4 separate regions of the Homo sapiens genome follow, and all the other regions are linked to region 1. The links are contacts of gene promoters, found by promoter capture Hi-C in human tissues and cell types (Jung and others, 2019). All regions are on one chromosome and are shown on one strand. The core of a region is centred on a gene start or on the middle of the fragment in contact, and the rest is flanking DNA. Distances in the headings are between cores, read along the strand shown. Region 1 holds the start of LINGO3 (leucine rich repeat and Ig domain containing 3). Region 2 holds the start of MKNK2 (MAPK interacting serine/threonine kinase 2). Region 3 overlaps GNG7 (G protein subunit gamma 7). Region 4 overlaps GNG7 (G protein subunit gamma 7).

Evidence for each region. The method cuts DNA at HindIII sites, captures the fragments that hold promoters and counts their contacts. A contact is called where the count stands out against the background at its distance.
Region 2: a contact is called between the fragment with the promoter of MKNK2 here and the fragment with the promoter of LINGO3 in region 1, in 2 of the 25 tissues and cell types used here (lymphoblastoid cells and spleen).
Region 3: a contact is called between a fragment that was not itself captured here and the fragment with the promoter of LINGO3 in region 1, in 2 of the 25 tissues and cell types used here (dorsolateral prefrontal cortex and spleen).
Region 4: a contact is called between a fragment that was not itself captured here and the fragment with the promoter of LINGO3 in region 1, in 8 of the 25 tissues and cell types used here (H1 embryonic stem cells, adrenal gland, dorsolateral prefrontal cortex and 5 more).

Annotation. Positions count from the first base shown.
Region 1 is chr19:2,306,774-2,310,139 of GRCh38, forward strand. It overlaps LINGO3 (leucine rich repeat and Ig domain containing 3), which reads right to left and starts at 1,381. Exons shown (of 2, transcript NM_001101391.3): 1 at 1,303-1,381. The HindIII fragment of the contact is 18,961 bases long and covers 1-3,366 here.
Region 2 is chr19:2,049,162-2,052,493 of GRCh38, forward strand. It overlaps MKNK2 (MAPK interacting serine/threonine kinase 2), which reads right to left and starts at 2,083. Exons shown (of 14, transcript NM_199054.3): 1 at 1,935-2,083; 2 at 1,640-1,786. The coding sequence starts at 1,690. RefSeq lists enhancers at 335-991, 1,168-1,227 and silencers at 798-987, 1,718-2,257. The HindIII fragment of the contact is 30,775 bases long and covers 1-3,332 here.
Region 3 is chr19:2,592,560-2,595,668 of GRCh38, forward strand. The region is part of intron 2 of GNG7 (G protein subunit gamma 7); the gene reads right to left. It also overlaps the pseudogene RN7SL121P. Among named protein-coding and RNA genes, the nearest start is that of MIR7850, 37 kb to the right of the region's middle. RefSeq lists an enhancer at 1-399. The HindIII fragment of the contact is 5,318 bases long and covers 1-3,109 here.
Region 4 is chr19:2,614,232-2,617,348 of GRCh38, forward strand. The region is part of intron 2 of GNG7 (G protein subunit gamma 7); the gene reads right to left. Among named protein-coding and RNA genes, the nearest start is that of MIR7850, 15 kb to the right of the region's middle. The HindIII fragment of the contact is 8,165 bases long and covers 1-3,117 here.

The DNA of each region.
Region 1 (3,366 bases), core at 131-2,630:
CCCCCTTCCTGCCACCCCACATCATCGAGATGGGGACAGGAGCTGGGTCTACAGGGGAAGCCCGTGGGTTCTTCCCACTCAGATCCTGTCTCCGACGATGGCTGCTGCTTCGGCTCAGAGAACAGCCAGGGTAAGGCCATGCCGCGGCAGCCCACCCCACACCAGCCTCCTGATAAAGCCAGCACCACCCTCCCTGAACCTGTTTCCAGCCTGCGTCCTCCACCTGACCACTCACACCTCACACCTTCTGCATCCTCTCCAGGCCACTTCCAGGGAGCCCTCCTGGGTTGCTCTGGTTCTCACAGCTCTGTTGTCCCTGAAGGCTCCCCCCAGCCAAGCCCCAGATCGTCCCTCTGCAAATACCACTGCACAGCAGACGCCCGCTCCCCACCCCCGCCGGAGCAAGGGTGTCTGCAGCCTCGCTGCGTCCATGGTTTAGCCAGGGACCGCTTGCTAAAATGCAGCTTCTGGGGCACATCGCCTCAGAAGTTCTGACTCCTCAGAACTGGGGGGGCCGGGACACCGGCACCGTTAGCGCCCCAAGCACACGTTGAGAAACCCAGTTACATGGTGGTCTCCAGCGTAAGGACCCGGGGCTTTTCTTGTGCCCGGACCAAGGCACGAGGTGCTGCTCCCCTAAACTTGTTGAATGGGACTCAGGGCCTCCCCTGGCCAGGCCCCAGAGGCCCGGGAGGTGGCGGCACCCACTCAGGGTGCCCAGGCCCACCATTTCTGGTGCTATTCAGACGCCCCCAGAGCAGGGGGACTCAGCCCTATGCCCCCAGGTCCCTCCCCGCCAGGCCGGGCCGTCAGCTCCAGCGATGGAGCAGGCTCCGGTGTGGACCCCAGATACCCTTTGCGTCTTCCAGCTCCGCACCCCCAGGCTGGACCAGACCCGGCTCGGGGGAGACAGGGCAGGAAGGCGCGGGCTGCAGGCTCTATTCGGACGTTCCCCACACCCCAGACCCAACCAGTGCCCCCTTCATCTCCTCCTGGAGAGGAGCGCATCCTCCCAGCGTCCCCAGTGCCCCGGGGAGATGCCCACCCGATTCCCCGCTCCTTGGCGCCCCAGAGGAGGGGCGGGGGGCCCCAGGGTGGGGAGTTCGCCCCCAAAGTTTCCAGGGGGAGCGTCGGGGGCCTGGCAAGGAGCGATGAGCCCGGGAGGGGTGCGCGGGGCAATTTCCCCCGGCTGAGGATGGGGTCGCGGGTTGGGGGCTTTGGGCGGCAGGGTCGCAGGGTGCAGGTGAGGGGTCCCCAGGTCTGCGGGCGCGCCCCACGCCGGGCCCCGGCACGGCCACTCACCTGGGCGGCTCCGCCGCGGACACGGCGCGGGCTGCGGCGCGGGGGCCGCCCGGAGCCGACACGAGCAGCCGCCGCCGCCGCCGCCGCCGCCGCCGCCGCCTCCCGGGCTCCGCCGTGCGCGCCGCCGCCGCGCGCAACCGCCCGCCGGTCTCCTCGGCGCGCCTGGCGGGGGCGCGCGGGGGCTGCGCTGGGCCGCGTGCGCGGCGGCTGGGGCCGCAGGTGTGAGAGGCCACGTGGGCGCAGGTGCGGGGACACTGGGAGCGCGGGTGCAGAACCCCTCCGTGCGCATCCCGGGCGCTTCGTGTCCGAGGACCTCCTGTCCCCACGGCCTGGGTGAGCCTGCGGAGACGGCCGTGCCGTGCAATAAACGCAGGGGCACCCCAAGTGCAGCAGGTTGTTCCGTGTGGAACCTTCTGGAAGCTACCATCGCCTCCTCTGCCCCCCGTCCCCCACCCCTAGTCCAGGCCGCCACCATCTGCACCTGGACATCTGCCACAGCCCAGCCCAGGCCCATTCCTTATGTGGCCCTCAGAGGAAGCCCCTCAGAGGAAGCTTAGCCACTGGGCTCCAGAACCTGCCGTGATTCCCTATTGCCGTGAGGGTCCCGTCTGCACCCCACCTACCCTGGAATTTCTCTTTCTTTCGTTCTTTCTTTCTTTCTTTCTTTCTTTTTTTTTTTGAGATGGAGTCTTGCTCTGTTGCCCAGGCTGGAGTACAGCGGTGCCATCTTGGCTCACTGCAACCTCCGCCTCCTGGGTTCAAGCGATTCTCCTGCCTCAGCCTCCCAAGTAGCTGGGATTACAGGCACCCGCCACCACGCCCGGCTAATTTTTGTATTTTTATTAGAGACGGATTTTCAGCATGTTGGCCAGGCTGGTCTCAAACCCCTGACCTCGGGTGATCCACCCACCTCGGCCTCCCAAAGTGCTGGGATGACAGGTGTGAGCCACCGCCCGGCTGCCTGCACTGTTTGGTCTGCCGCACCACCTCCTTCCCCCTGGCCTGTCCTCACTCACTCTTTCCCGGGCTCCACCCCCTCAGCCTTCCTCAAACAGGCCAAGTCCCTCCAGTCCCAGGCCTTTGATCTTCGCTGTGCCCAGCTTGGACAGCCTTTCTCTCTGTCCCTCCATCGAGCAGCTTGGAGCCTCTCAGTTTGTCTAATGGGCTTGTTCCCCAATGTGCCTTCCGCCTAGCACACAGCAGCGCACACACCAAGTGCACTGCGAGTGCTCATGGAAAGTTTTTTACCTTTTTTTTTGTCTTTTTTTTTTTTTTTTTTTTTTGAAATGGAGTTTTGCTCTCGTCACCCATTCTGGAGTGCAGTGGTGCAATCTTGGCTCACTGCAACTTCCACCTCCCGGGTTCAGGCGATTCTCCTGTCTCAGTCTCCCAAGTAGCTGGGATTACAGGCGCCCATGACCATGCCTGGCTAATTTTTGTATTTTTAGGGGAGATAGAGTTTCACCATGTTGGCCAGGCTGGTCTCGAACTCCTGACCTCAGGTGATCCACCCGCCTCGGCCTCCCAAAGTGCTGGGATGACAGACGTGAGCTACTATGCCCGGCCCCTCACTGCATCTTCTAAAAGCCACATTTAGCCTCCCTGTCTCACAGATGAGCAAACCAAGGCTGGGAGATGCCATTTGTCCCAAGTGAGGGGTGAGAAGGAGGCCTCGGGAACCTGTGTGTGTAACCTTGCCCTGTCTGCCCCCTTCACCCACTCTGCAGTCCTCCCCACCAGCTGTGTATTCCCAGTGGCTTTGGCGGTGGCCTGGCACTCACGCAGCCACCTGTGACTCAAGCAGGCTCTGTTCCCAGACTGTCGCGTTGGCTGGAGGCCCAGAAACCGCATCCCTGGGAGGCTGCAGGCCAGGCCCCCCACAGGATGCTGTGGGGGGCGGGTATGGTTCAATTCCTGGCCCCAGAGAGGTCCAGAAGGACTTCATGACACCCCATGCTCTCCCCACCAAATGGCCCTGGGCTGCTGTGCTGTGTGACCCCAGTAGGGGAGGTCTCCTTCTCTCTCTGAACGTGTTTCTTTCTCTGTAAAGTGATGCTCCTGATA
Region 2 (3,332 bases), core at 833-3,332, 260 kb before region 1:
ACGAGACTCCGCGGCCTCCTCGCCCGTGTACAGGGGAGCCCCAGGCACACGCGCCTGCAGTCTCAGAGCCTCACTTTCCCATCTGCGAACGGAAAGAAACCCAAGGCACCCACAGACGTGCCTCCCTGCTGGGCTGCTGCCTGCTGGAGGCAAGGAGAGTATTTCAGGAGAGGTGGCCCCAATCCAGGGAGCAGCCGTGCATGGTGGGGGCTGTGGGGGGAGATTCCTAGAGCAACCGGTCCCGGCCACCTGGAGGAACACCTCACAGCCAGGACTGCCTGCCAGGCCCTCCTCCACCAAGACGCCCACCTTCCCAGCTCCCAGCCAGGCTGCCCTGGCCATGCACAGAGGCCGGCCCACAATCCTGGGCAGTGTGGGCGGTCCTGGTCCCACTGTTCTAGGTCTGGCTGTGGGACTCGAGTCAGCAGGCCTTGGCAGGAGGTGGCTGGAACCATCTAGAAAGTTCAAGTGTGCTTTAGCTGCCTGGCTGGCCCCATGCACTGACTCTGTATCAGCTCATGCCTGGCCCTAGGAGGGAGAAGACCACTGTCAGGTCCTCCTCTTTCCCGCCCAGCCCCTGACACTCTGATGGTGCCAGGCCTGCTGCCCTAGGGGAAAACTGGGCAGGGGTGGCAGGGGTGGAGTGCTGCCCTGGGGCACTGGCTGGACAGACCTGGGAATTCTTCCCAGTCTCTCTTTGCTCCTCCCACCCTGGAGCACCGCGTTGTGTGTACACACAAGACAGAGACACACACACACACAAACACACACACATACACTCACACTCTCTCTTCCTCTCTCCAGTCCTGCCTTCCCTACCGGGCAACAGGTCCCTGCCCAAGGAAGCCCAGTGAAGCGATTACATAACCCCGGCCTGAGGGGTGGGGCGGGCCGGCTGACATCACTGCGTCCCCTGGGCCAGGTCCTGCGGGGCCCCTGCCCAGCACCTGCCCTCCCCTTCCCCCCCAAGATTTGCTCATCTGAAACCAGCACTCAACAGCAGTCACCACCCGGGCTGCGCAGAAACTTCCCGCTCCGACAGGAAACAGCACTTGGGCCTGGGGTGTCTGCGAAGTGCAGGGCTGAGGGGACATCCCATCCCCTCCCCCACGGCACAGGCCCCCTGGGGGTGGGTGCACCTGACCAGCCCGGCCTGGGGATTCTGAAAGAAAGTCCCCAGAAGCCACATGGAGGTGGGAATGGGACTGTGGCCCGCTGACCCGTCCCCACCAGGGCACAACCAGCTGGAGCTTGCAGGGGACACCCCCCATAAGCCACATGCAGCGACTGGGACAGGACTGCAGCCTGCTGACCCCCCAGAACATACCCGGCGGGGGCTTGCAGGGGACACACAGCCTGGTGCCCTGACCCGGAGGGGGCTCCTGCTCCCAGCCTCACTTGGGGGTCCTGGAGGAAGGACCCGGCGGCCATGGCTGGAGAGAGGACTGTGGCCTGCTGAACCCCCATCCTCGCACACCGACCCCGCTTCAGCGCACGGCCGGCCCGGGCAGCCCCGGGTGTAGGGCGGGGGCCAGGCACGAGCCCCGGGAGCCGATCTTAGGGGCGGGCCCCGCGCCCCCCACGCCGGCCATTCCGGTGGTCCAGCCCGGAGCGCCCCCAAACCGACCCCGGGCCTCACCTTGAACGAACGGTGGAAACCCTGAAGTTCGGCTGGTTTCTTCTGCACCATCTTCTGTCCGGGCCCCGCCAGCGGGGGAGGGGACCGAGGGCCCGGGGGGAGGCCCGAGGGCGGGCGGCCGGGCGGGGGGCGGCCGAGGAGGGGACCCTGCGGGCGGGAGCAGACAAAGGGAGGGCGGTGAGCGGAGCCCGGCCTGCCAGGAGCGCGGACCGGGCGGGGGCGGCGAGGGCTCCGCGGGGCCCGTTTCCCGCTACCGGGTCGGTGTCCTCGGGGCCGCCCTGGGGTTCGCACTCACCGGGGTCGGGCTTGGGCCGGGGCCGCAGTGCCGCCGCCGCCCCACGTCGCGCAGCCCGGACCCCGCTCCGCGGACCGCGCGGGGAACAGCGCCGCCGCCGCCGCCAGCGCGGACCCCTCTACCTGGGCCACCGCCGCTGAGAGGAGCCGGGCGCGTCGCCGCCGCCGCCACCTTTATAGGCCCGGACCTGCTCTGGCCCCGCCCCCGACGCAGGCTCCGCCCGGCCTCACCCCCTGCGCACGACGTGGGCGGAGCCAGAAGAGGGCGCTCTCCGGGAACCCAGTGCGGCTGCGCGCTCCGGCGGTGGGGCGTGTCCGAAACGGCTAGCGCACGCCTGCGCAGTGCGGCGCACGGGGGTCTCGGTGCGGAACCTAGGCAGCGACCCTGCGGCGCGCCCGGAGCTGGCCTGTTTTTGCCGCCTGAGGCTCGCGGGGCCCGTGGGACCTGCGAGGCCCTGGGCCGTGTCCTACCGCCTGGCCCCACACAGGGCAACTCCCTTGGCCTGTCAACCCAGGCCTAGTATACCCCGACTCCCTTGGTTCATGCCCTCGCTCTAGAACCTGCCATGGCTCCCTCTTGCAGTTCTCCAGTGCTGGCTCCAGCAGTCCCCCTCGTGCACCACCAGCACGCTTGGAGTCCCAGCCACTCCCTTCTAGTGCTGGGGGACCAGCCACCGCCACCTACTTTCTTCTTCCCCTGGGCCACCCTGCCTGGGGAGCACTGAGCTCCCCGAGTTTGCTTTGTGGTTGGCAGGAACCAGAGTAGAGGGTGGGGACCGAGGTCTGTGAAGGACCCTTCCTCTGTCCTCGAATAGCATTTCAGGGAGAACTGGGACCTGAGACCCACTGGGAAAGAGCCCAAGGGGTGGATGGTCGCCAGGACAGGAAGTAAAACACAGTCCCATTTTGGCTGGGGCCCCAAACCAGGCTTAGATAGAATCAGCCTGTCCTGAGCTGCCAGTCCCCCATCCCACAGCATCCTGGTTCAAAGTGCTCCCCAGGCCCCGGGCCTGGGGCACACAAGGAGTGGGGGTTCCCCTGCTGGGTGGACTGTGGTCTCCTCTTCTGCAGGGGTTTCCAGAAGCTTCGCACAGCCCATCCCACCATCCCCCAACCAGGCCCTGAGCTCAAGAGGGGCTGGAGCCCCACTGACCTGAAGCTGGAGGGCCCCTGCCTGCAAGGCCACAGCTCTCAGGCCACAGGGGCTGGGAGGCCTGGCCTCAGCCACCCCCGGGGCATTGGGGGGAAGCCTGTGGGGAATTCCCAGCCAGAACCCAGCCCAGCACCTGGCATTGCCCTGACTCTTGGCAATGGGGGGACAGAAAACCAGGTCCCCCAGCCCCCCTTATTGTGCATGTGGGTGCGTGTGTGTGCGTGTGAACACATACACGCACAAACA
Region 3 (3,109 bases), core at 304-2,803, 290 kb after region 1:
TCCTATCTCTAGAAAAAATTTTTAAAAAGCATCCAGGTGTGCTGGTATGTGCCCATGGTCCCAGCTACTCAGGACGTTGAGGCAGAAGGATTGCTTGAGCCCAGGAGGTCGAGGCTCTAGTGAGCTATGATTGCATCGTTTCACTCCAGCCTGGGTGACAGAGCAACAAGGAGAGGGAAGGAAGGGGAGGGGAGGGGAGGGGGAGGGGAAGGAAGGAAGGAGAGGGAGGGAGGGAAGAGAGAAAGAAAGAAAGAAAGAGAGAGAGAGAGAGGGAGGGAGGGAGAGAGGGAGAGAGGCAGGGGAGAGGAGAAGGAAAAAAAGAAAGAAGAAAACGAAGGAAGGAAGGAAAGAAGGAAGGAAGGAGAGGGAGGGAAGGAAGGAAGGAAGGACGGAAGAAAGAAAGAAAGGGAGGGAGGGAGAGAGGGACGGAGGGAGGGGAAAGGAGAAGGGAAAAAAAGAAAGAAGAAAAGGAAGGAAGGAAAGAAGGAAGGAAGGAAGGAGAGGGAGGGAGGAAAAAAAAAGAAAAGAAAATGCATACTCTTTCTAACCAACAGCTGAGGTCACAAAAAAGTAAGAAAATCCAGCACAGACTAAAAACTTCAAAGAGGACAGGGCACCGGGTGGTGAGAAGTGGCCTGTGGCCACCCAGATTGAGGGGAGAGGCTTCTGGTCTTGGTCACCAACGGCCTGATGTTGTTCTTAATCTCTGCCTCTCTTAAAAATGTATAGTGGAAAATTCCTTTTTTAAAAAAAAAACTTGGAATGTTTGTCTTTATTTTGTGCTTTATATTTTCAAAGTGAAAAGAAATAGTATTGAGTCAATTTTTGTTTTTTAAAATATTCGTTCTATATATTTACAAGCCTTCAAGCTGCTCTAAAGATTTCAAAAGTATTAAGAGTAGGACTGGGCGTGGTGGCTCACACCTGTAATCCCAGCACTTTGGGAGGCTGAGGTAGGTGGATCACCTGAGGTCAGAAGTTCGAGACCAGCCCGGGCAACAAGGCGAAACCTCGTCTCTACTAAAAATACAAAAATTAGCCGGGCATGGGGGCGGCTGCCTGTAGTCCCAGCTACTAGGGGTGCTGAGGCAGGAGAATCGCTTGAACCTGGGACACGGAGCTTGCAGTGAGCCGAGATTGTGCCACTGCACTCCTGCCTGGGCAACAGAGTGAGACTCCATCTAAAAAAAAAAAAAAATTGCAAATACTTTTCCCGGGGTAGCACTTTTTTTTTTTTTTTAAACAATCCTTGGAGTTCTGTGGTCCATGCCATTTCCTTCTGTTTCAATGTTATATATGTTTTGATTACTATTGTGATGTTTTAAGTTTTCTGAAGCAAGCTGAGAGGCAGGCCGAAATATTTGATGCCAAAAAAAAAAAAAAACTTTCTTACCTCATTCACCCCAAACCTTCTCAAATCTGGATTAAATACTATACTTTAAAACAAACATGAGGTGCTTCTGAAGGGGAGGAAAATTTATTTCTCTGCTTTTCTATTATACAAGTTGTTTACAGAAACTGCAAATCAAGGCCGGGCACAGTGGCTCACGCCTGTAATCCCAGCGCTTTGGGAGGCCAAGACGGGCGGATCACCTGAGCTCAGGAGTTCGAGACCAGCCTGGCCAACATGGAGAAACCCCATCTCTACTAAAAATACAAAACACTTAGCTGGGTGTGGTGGTGGGCACCTGTAGTCCCAGCTACTTGGGAGGCTGAGGCAGGAGAATCGCTTGAACCTGGGAGGTAGAGGTTGCAGTGAGCCGAGATATCACACCACTGCACTCCAGCCTAGGCGACAGAGTGAGACTCCCTCAAGAAAGAAAGAAAGAAGGAAAGAAAGAAGGAGGGAAGGAAGGAAGGAAGGAAGGAAGGAAGGAAGGAAGGAAGGAGGAAGAAAGAAACTGCAAATTTAAAAAATTACATATAGTGGAAAATTTCAAACACAGCCTGAAGCACGCAGGCCAGGACGAGGTCTCTCTGAGTGTCGTCACCTCCTGCAACGGGAATTAACATTCTGCCCTTCTTCTGTTCTCACTTCTCTCTCCAGCTTTGCACGGGTATTTCACACAAATTCAAGACATCATATGACTTTGCCTGTAGAACCTTCAGAATGTTCTCTAATCACTGAAGCTTTCTGATTTCCCAACACAGAACCACCCAATCAAATTAACACTGTCTTATTATCAACTTGCTCCATGATTATCAACAATAATTTCCTGTTACCAATAACCAGCCTGTGACCCATTGTCCATGATTATCTCAAAAATGTCTTTAATGGCCCGGCGTGGTGGCTCACGTCTGTAATCCCAGCCCTTTGGGAGGCTGAGGCGAGCTGATTGCTTCAGGACAGGAGTTTGAGACCAGCCTGGGCAACATACCAAGACCTCATCTCTACAAAAAATACAAAAAAATTAGCTGGGCATGGTGGCACGTACCTGTAGTCCCAGCTATTTGAAAGGATGAGGTGGGAGGATCGCTTGAGCCCAGGTGGTCAAGGTTGCAGTGAACCATGATGGCACCACTGCACTCCAGCCTGGGCAACAGAGCGAGACCCTGTCTCAAAAGAAATTAAATTTTTTTTTTTTTGAGACGGAGTCTCACTCTGTTGCCCAGGCTGGAGTGCAGTGGCGTGATCTTGGCTCACTGCAACCTCCACCTCCCGGGTTCAAGCGATTCTCCTGCCTCAGCCTCCCAAGTAGCTGGCATTACAGGCGCCCGCCACCACGTCCGGCTAATTTTTGTATTTTTAGTAGAGACGGGGTTTTGCCATGTTGGTCAGGCCGGTCTTGAACTCCTGACCTCAGTTGATTGATCCACACACCTCAGCCTCCCAAAGTGCTGGGATTATAGGTGTGAGCCACCATGCCCGGCTGAAAGGAAATTAAATTTAAGGGCCGAGTGCAGTGGCTCATGCCTGTAATCCCAGCACTTTGGGAGGCCGAGGCGGGTGGATTGCCTGAGCTCAGGAGTTTGAGACCAGCCTGGGCAACATAGCAAAACTCCGTCTCTAGTAAAAATACAAAAAATTAGCCGGGCGTGGTGGCGGGTGCCTGTAATCCCAGCTACTCGGGAGGCTGAGGCAGGAGAATGGCGTGAACCCGGGAGGCGG
Region 4 (3,117 bases), core at 137-2,636, 310 kb after region 1:
GCGGCGACTTTCCCTAGCACCCTCTCCCTGCCCTCTGTGTACCCGCAGGGGGGCCCTGCACGTCGGGTCTCAGGCACATGTGTGGTGAAATGCACACAACAAAAAAGCTCCCTTTCCAGACATCCAGTGGCATTCGTGCAGCCATCATCTCTAGCTAGCTCTAGAACATTCTCAGCCCCCCAAAAAGACACCCCATCCCTATCAGCTGTCACTTCCCATCCCCCTCCCCAGCCCCTGGCACCCACACATCCCCTTCCTGCCTCTCTAGACTGGCCTGTCCTGGACATTTCATAGAAATAGGATGACACACTGTGTGGCCTTTTGGATCTGGCATCTCTCACTGAGTGTGACATCCTCAAGGGGCATCCAGGCTGCACGTGGCCTGGGTCAGAGTCTCGTTCACGGCTGAGTCTCGTTCCAGTGTGTGGAGGGCCACGCTGTTTATCTATTTACCCACGGACGGACACTTGGGTCATTTCCACCTTTTAGCCATTGTGAATCGTACTGTATGAACATTTGTGGCAAGGTTCTATTTGAACACCTGCTTCCAATTCCTCTGGGCAGATAACTAGGAGCGGAATTGCTGGGTCATGTGGCGACTCCGCGTTCAGCCTTTTGAGGAACCACCAGACTGGTTTCCAAGGCGGCTGCCCCATCTTGCATCACACATCAATTCTCAATGCCAAGGCGTTCCTCAGCTTTTAAACAAGGCACTGAGGCAGGAGGCAGGCAGCTGATTGTTGAAGGTCACCCCGTAGCCATTGGCAGAGCCAGAACTTGCAGCTGTGATTTGTGCCGCGGCTCCTGCCCAAGCCCTCCTTCCCTGGCTTCAGTGCTGGGCTGGGCAAGGTGTGTGGAATAGCCCCGCTTTCTAGGCCACTTTCGGGGTACTGGGCGGCCACTGTCTGGTCTGAAGGTGCCATCTGTGACACTCTTTTTTTTTTTTTTGAGACGGAGTCTCGCTCTGTCGCCCAGGCTGGAGTGCAGTGGCGCGATCTCGGCTCACTGCAAACTCCACCTCCCAGGTTCCCACCATTCAGGCTCCCCCAGACCTCCGCCTCCAGGGAGCCCTCCAGAATGTCCTTCCTCCTGCCTTCAATGCTCCTCCCCATCCTGCAGGGGTCGGCAAGGATGTCCTCTCCTTAGAGACCTTCCTGGACACCACGTGGCACAGACTCTGTCCTCTTGGTGCCACCTCATCCTATTTTCTTTGTCTTTTCCGGTTTTTTTTTTTTTTTTTTTTTTTTTTGAGATAGGGTCTTGCTCTGTTGCCCAGGCTGGAGTGCAGTGGTGCAGTCACAGCTCACTGCAACCTCAGCCTCCTGGGCTCAAGTGATCCTCCTGCCTCAGCCTCCAGAGTAGCTGGAACTACAGGCACCCACCACCACGCCTGGCTAATTTTTTTGTATTTTTAGTAGACATGGGGTTTCACCATGTTAGCCAGGATGGTCTCGATGTCCTGACCTCATGATCTGCCCGCCTCGGCCTCCCAAAGTGCTGGGATTACAGGCATGAGCCACCACGCCTGGCCCATCTGTGAGATTCTGAAGAGCCACTGCTGAGCAATTAAGCTGCCCTCTGCAGTGGGAAATTTTCTTTGCAAGGAAGCAGCAAGGCGGAGGAGGCAGGAGGGTTCCCTAAGATTGTGCACCCACGGCAGCCAGCAATGTGCCTGACACAGTGAAGGGCCTCGGCAAAGGGGCGCCTCCTGTCCCCTTCAAATCCTTACGGGCCACCCCAGGATCTGGTGACCTGGAACAGACTCCTGTATGGGCCTTTTTCCCCTGGTGCCAGCAGGGAACAGGGCAGGATGGAAAAAACACCCAGTAGCCAGTGGCCCACTGATGTCACCAAGCTGCAGGGCTGCCCAGCATTGATTAAACACAGCTGGTGTGGGCCAGGCATGGCACCTCACACCTGTGATCCCAGTGCTTTGGGAGGCTGAGGCGAGAGGATCCCTTGAGCTCAGGAGTTCAAAACCAGCCTGGGCAAAATAGTGAGACCCCATCTCTAATTTATTATTATTATTTTGAGCCGGAGTCTCGCTCTGCTGCCCAGGCTGGAGTGCAATGGCACGATCTCGACTCATTGCAACCTCTGCCTCCCGTGTTCCAGCGATTCTCCTGCCTCAGCCTCCCGAGTAGCTGGGATTACAGGCGTGTGCCACCGTGCCCAGCTAATTTTTGTATTTTTAGTAGAGATGAGGTTTTGTCATGTTAGCCAGGCTAGAGACTCCATCTCTATTAAAAAACAAACAAAGAAAGGCTGGGTGTGGTGGCTCATGCCTATAATCCCAGCACTTTGGGAGGCCAAAGCGAGCGGATCACCTCAGGTCAGGAGTTTGAGACCAGCCTGACCAACAGGGAGAAACCCCGTCTCTCCTAAAAATACAAAATTAGCCGGGCATGGTGGCGGGTGCCTGTAATCCCAGCTACTCAGGAGGCTGAGGCAGAATTGCTTGAACCCGGGAGGCAGAGGTTGCAGGTTGCAGTGAGCCGAGATCACGCCATCGCACTCCAGCCTGAGCAAAACCCCATCTCAAAAAAAAAAACCAGACAAATATAGCTGGTGGGTTCTTGGGCAAGGCTGGTGACCAGGGCCCTAGGGGAGGATGTTTCCAAGAGCTGCCAAGAGCAGTGGGGCCCGGGTTCTGCCCGCCTCTTCCTCTGACTGTTTCCTCATCTGGGGTCACGGGATAAGTGCAGCTCCGCCTCCCTGGTCATGCAGGTGACTGTGAATGAAAGTGTCTTGGAATCAGAAGGTTCTGGCATGAAAGCTTTGCACCAGCCTTCCACCAGTGTGCTGCCCAGCACGTGACTATCGGAAAAACTTTAGCTTATTTCAGCCTAATTACATTCCGTTAACCCAAAGTCTCTGACGTTCAGGGCTGGATCATTCTCTGGGATGGGGCCATCCTGGTGCACTGCAGGGTGCTGAGTGGCGTCCCTGACCCCCACCCACTCCATGCCAGGAGCATCTCCAGTCGTGACAACCACAGATGTCCCCAGATATCACCCAGAGTCCCCTGGAGGCAAACCTGTCCCACTTAAGAACCGCTGGCCTGGACCAGAAACTGGATCTTTCAGGGAGGCAGAGCTCACCAGCCATCCAGGCACT